Linked DNA regions of Homo sapiens: region 2 is linked to region 1. Evidence: promoter capture Hi-C in 16 types of primary human blood cells and fetal thymus (Javierre and others, 2016). All regions are on one chromosome and are shown on one strand. Each heading gives the region's core, a stretch centred on a gene start or on the middle of the fragment in contact. The rest is flanking DNA. Distances are from core to core; before and after follow the strand shown. Region 1 holds the start of NPTN (neuroplastin). Region 2 overlaps NEO1 (neogenin 1).

Evidence for each region. The method cuts DNA at HindIII sites, captures the fragments that hold promoters and counts their contacts. A CHiCAGO score of 5 or more calls a contact.
Region 2: a contact is called between a fragment that was not itself captured here and the fragment with the promoter of NPTN in region 1, in 1 of 17 cell types (neutrophils). The highest score is 6.4, in neutrophils.

The regions. Positions count from the first base shown.
Region 1 is chr15:73,632,055-73,634,672 of GRCh38, reverse strand. It overlaps NPTN (neuroplastin), which reads left to right and starts at 1,284. Exons shown (of 9, transcript NM_012428.4): 1 at 1,284-1,548. The coding sequence starts at 1,458. RefSeq lists silencers at 1,128-1,427, 1,508-1,767. The HindIII fragment of the contact is 2,824 bases long and covers 1,009-2,618 here.
Region 2 is chr15:73,268,914-73,271,531 of GRCh38, reverse strand. It overlaps NEO1 (neogenin 1), which reads right to left. Exons shown (of 29, transcript NM_002499.4): 17 at 1,299-1,522; 18 at 1,078-1,216. Among named protein-coding and RNA genes, the nearest start is that of MIR12135, 30 kb to the left of the region's middle. The HindIII fragment of the contact is 4,228 bases long and covers 1-2,618 here.

The DNA of each region.
Region 1 (2,618 bases), core at 35-2,534:
CTGAGGTTTTGAAGGACATAGTTTTCACTTCAATCAACAACATGCCATAGTGGTCCTGGCCTTTGCTAGAAATTTTGGTCTGGAACCACCAGCTGTTCAGTTCCTGTTGAAAGTTCCAGACCACTTTAGCTTGATAGAGATTGCGAGGGTCTCCTTCTTCCAGGTCCTCCAAACCCTCTCTTTAAATCAAGTCAGGCCACCAGGACTGTTTACTTGGCCCCTCAGAGTTTCCACAGACACTCCCAGGACGTCTGCTGTGAGTCAGGGATGAGCTAAGCCATAGAAATTCCTTTGCCAACCACAAGCCCTGAGGGTAGTACAAAAAATACCCCTAAAAAGAGCATTTCCCAAACTTCTATGCAAACAGTAGTAACCACACTGCCAATCACCCTCCAGAGTGCTTTGCTAGATCCTTTCCTATGGGGCCATTTGACCCTTCCTCACTCCTCTGCTAGCCTAGGCAGTGCACTCCATGAGGACGGGGACTACCTTTTCATGTGGGTTTCACTATGTGCCTGGCACACAGCACGTTCTCAATAAATGTTTTCCGCATTAAGACGCTTCTTAGGAGTCTTCATGTAAGTTCATACACGACTTCCTTGTAGAATTGTGTCAATGAACATGCAATTAGGCTAGCTGAACTTCAGGCCCTGAGAGTCTATGAAGCTAAAATAAGGCCCAGATGTGGGGTGGGAGGGGGAGTAGGCAGAGGCGGCAAAGGAGGACATTTCAGGCAAAGGGAGCAGATGTCCAGGCAGGAAAGCACAAGGTAACGGGGGCACAGGGGGCGCACCACTTTTCCTGGAAGGAAAAAACAGCAGATGAGAGAAGGAGGTTGGAGCCAGTTACCAGTAGAGGTCTATGTTCAAAGTCCAGAAGGAAGAAACAGCAGGACGGGGACAAAGAGAGGAAGGAGGAAAGGAGGCACGGTGTATGAAACTCTGTAGCCAAGAGCGCTAACAAATGAAAGGCAGGATGGGTGGAGGAAATGTACTGTGTTCCAAAGCTTCCTCTTATTTATGGGTGCTCCCGGGCCACAGAGGAGTAAACTGAAGGACTTCCCAGCTCCCCACTGCCCAGAGAGCTAGCGGAGTCCCGCCTCGCCCCGTCACATGGCCAGAGGCGCCCTCGGCACGTGACCTACCTCGCGCTAGGCCAATCAGCCTCTGCAGGGGCGGGGCCACCGAGTCCGCGGGGCGGGAGTCTCCGTCGGAGCCGCCTCTTCTCGCGATCCTTGCGGCGGTCGCTCCTCAGCCGCCCACGACCCGGAGCGAAGGTCTCGCGAGGCCTGGGCGCTGCGGCGGCAGGAGGAGGACGGGGAAGGACGGAGCCGAGCCGCGGCTGCCTCCCTCGCTCACTCCCTCGCGCACTCGCCCGCCCCCTCCCTCCCTCCCCTCCCTTCCCCGGCCCCGGCTCTGGCCCCGGCCCATTCGCTGTTGGGTCTTCTGCTAGGGAGGATGTCGGGTTCGTCGCTGCCCAGCGCCCTGGCCCTCTCGCTGTTGCTGGTCTCTGGCTCCCTCCTCCCAGGGCCAGGCGCCGCTCAGAACGGTAAGCGGGGCGCCGGGGGCGGGCCGGGCGGGGGTTGAGGGGCGCCGGGGCCGGAGGGGGCCCGGCTCTGGCCTGAGGAGACGCTGGAGCTCGGGGAAGGGGGCCGAGTGGGCGTCTGAGGGGCTGCGGGTCCGAGAGGAGGTACCGGCTGCGGGTTTGAGGAGGCGCGGGTGTGAGGACCGGAGGCTCCTATCCGAGCGGCGGGGGCGTCCGGGGTGAGCCCGAGGTGTTGCCCACTCGGAGGCTCCACGTCGTGGGGCTCGTCGTGCCGGGTCGGCGAGGGGACACGGAGGAAGCCGACGTGGGGAGCTGGAGTAGCGGGGGCGGATGAGGAGGGGGCGCAGCTCTTAGGGAGGGTGGCACAAGACCGGCGTTTGTGTTCCGGGCGACGGGGATGGTGGTGTCCGTCAGGCCCCCCGGGAGCTGGGGTCGTCCAGGATTCTACTGAGGCCCCGTAGGACTGGTGACATCCTTAAAAATAAGGGGGAAATTGGGGGGAAGAGAGTCCTGAGGAACACTAATGGTGAGCTGAGTACTAGAGACCAAAGGAGGGGGTAAAGAATCAGGGAACCTTGGATCTAGGGATAGAGGGAAGGTGGGTGGGAAGATGAGGGAGTGGGTTGACTGCAGTAGGGGACCTGGAGAGAGAAGCAGCAGTGTCTCCAAATGAGCTGGGGGAAGAGGGCTGGGTTTGCTAAAGAGGGTGGAGTGCTGGGCATTCTAGGGTAGTGGTTGGGAGAGCAAAAAGGAGTTTCTAAATAAGGAGAGGAAAATGAGCAGAGGATGGAGGGAAAGGGTTGGAACTGAGGTGGGGGAATATTTATTAGAGAAGTAAGGAGGCCTGGGTATAGAGATGGGGGTGGGGGAAGACGAAAAATAAGGGAAGGGAGTAAAATGCAGGAAGTCGGGGGTGTAATGTTGGTTTGCAGTGTGGAGGATAAATTAGGGAAGGGAGGAGTTGGGATGTGGCAAATGCTGTATGATATTGGTCGGGCCTTTGGGAAAACAGGGACACATAGCTGCAACTAATTGCAGTGGTGGGATTGAGGGCAGTGACTGGCGACAGGGAG
Region 2 (2,618 bases), core at 58-2,557, 360 kb after region 1:
CCAACTATTGAGGTTACAGCTCTAAAGTGAAGCTGTTCGTTTATGCAACAGGACAATACGTTTCCTGTGTTTCCATGTGATAGCTGAAAACTTTTAACACACTAGTAGGAAAATGAGCAAATTAAGTACATCCTTAAATTTACTCAACTCTTCCTAAAATACTAGAATTCTCTTAGTATAAAATGTAAGGAAGCCTGGTGAAATGCAAATATCCTAAGGGAAAACACAATCTCATTTGTTATCTAATGGGTTAGGATTGAAGTAAAAACATTTTCTTAAAATGGTTGGCAAAGAAAGCAAACTCAAGGTCTATTTAAACTTTGATGTACTGTATTTCTAACTCTTCAAATCCAACCCTTCTCTCTGTACAAAGTCCAGTGAACTGTGCAGAAGACAAAAAGACACTGAGGCCAAGCCCAGTTTGTGGAGAATTTATAACTCCATTATTCATATAGGAGAGAAATAGGAGGCCAAAATAGACAGAGATTTGAAATGGTTATGCATATCCCTAGACTAGGAAAGCCCAGGGGGTAGCAGAAAGGCATGTCTAAAAGTCAGCAAAAACCAAACAGAATCTCAAACCCAGATAGCCTGTTCTCTCTTTAATTTGCTTAGTCATCTTTTCCCTCTCGTGTCCACTTACAAAGACCTTAAGGATTATTTCAGTGGAAGATTTTATAAGACGCTAATTTGCTTGCAAGCAAACTGCAGAGGCAGCTTTGGGGTCACCCAGCAAAGTGTTCAGGCTCCAAGCAAGCATGGCATTGGAACTGCCTGGTCAAGGGCAGGTCACTTCATCTTTTCTATCTCAGTTTACCAGTAAAGCAGGATTAATGGCAATAATCCCTTACATCTACCCAGTGCTTTGTAATTTATCATGTTTTCCCTGTAGTATCCTGTTATTTGCTAATGTTCTTGTTCAGTAATTAAAAACACACAACTTGTCAGCTGAAATAGCAAACACTGAATTCCAAATGTAGTTGCTCACTGTGTTTTGTAAATATGTCAATTCAGGCACTCAATTCTTTCCTTGGGAAGTAAAAGCAGCCATGTGACATGGCTTCTGACAACACATACCTAATTCAAAGGTGGTCCCATGGGCTGTCATACTCCATGTACTTGATCTTCGACCTTTGGTCACCATCACAGAGAATTCATAGAGTGTATTCGGCTTTAAACCAGTCACCAAATAACTCAAAGTGGTTGCATTTGCATTCTGAAAAAAACATGAATTGAGACTTTAAAATTAGAAAGTATCAATGATTAGCTTTTTTCAGCCAGGGCAAATGTGTCAGTACCTTGTACTTGGTGTTTGCTGGGATGTTGGTTTTCCATCGGACGGTGTAGTATCGGGAGTCTGTAATCTTCTGGTGCTTGGGCAGCGAGTTGTCTGCCCACGTAATCCTGATGGTGTCATGACTCAGAATGGAAGCCTGAACTCCCACTGGTGGCATCATGGGAGTGGGATCTGGCACTGGAGTGTATGGAGCATTAATAACAAATAAATCAACTTCAGAAGTGTCTGAGCAGAAAATAATTTAAAAAGGGAAGTGGCATTTTAATGTAAACAAAAATAAAATAAAAGGGAAATGCAGGGTAATATAATGGAATGAAAGGTGAGAAATGGAGAAAAAGAAAGAAAATTCAGAGTTAATAGATAACCACCATTCATTTAAAAGACTATTTCCACTTGTGTTCTTTCAGGAAAAAATTACAGAAAAATGTTAAGAGAAGCAGTAATAAACTATATTCTCTACTGCATTCTATAGGCATATTAAAATGTTATAATCCAGTGATTATATTAATGTATTCGTGCTTGAATTTTCTTAAAATAACTTGAAAATTCTACTTCCTGTTCAAAAAGCCTCATGAGGCCAGGTGCAGTGGCTCATGCCTGTAATCCCAGCACTATGGGAGGCAGAGGCGGGCAGATCACCTGAGGTCAGGAGTTCAAGACCAGCCTAGCCAATATGGTGAAACCTGTCTCTACTAAAAATACAAAAATTAGCTGGGCATGGTGGCAGGTGCCTGGGGTCCCAGCTACTCGGGAGGCTGAGGCATGAGAATCGCTTGAATCTGGGAGATGGAGGCTGCGGTGAGCTGAGATTGCACCACTGTACTCCAGCCTGGGTGACAGAGCAAGACTCTGTCTCAGAAAACAAAAAAACCCCAAAACCAAAAAGGCTCACGAAGACAAAAACTGCTTTTAGAATCAGGGGTACAATTTCTAAACAAGCAATACAAACCTCATGGTTTGAGATTTCAGTGAATGTGGCTGAATTTTTGGGACAAGAGTTATCTGTGCATATCACTATTCATGTAAGGGTCCAACACTCAAACCTGAGTCTTGAATGTCAGCCATGGGTATTGACGGTATCTGATACCCACAAAGGGTCAAGTTCAGACCTCCTGATGTCCTGGGTCTAATGGCAGTACAGTGACATAGCTGACACCCAAATAAAGCAAAAGGAACTCAAGGGTGTACTCTTCCTTCAGGAAAGGTAAGCTGACACCATGCTGGACTATCTACCATAGTTTCTTCCACAGAGTCAGAGAACAACCCAGTGATGAATTCCCATCAGTTAACGGAAATGCCATGGTTATCACAGTTCCAAGTA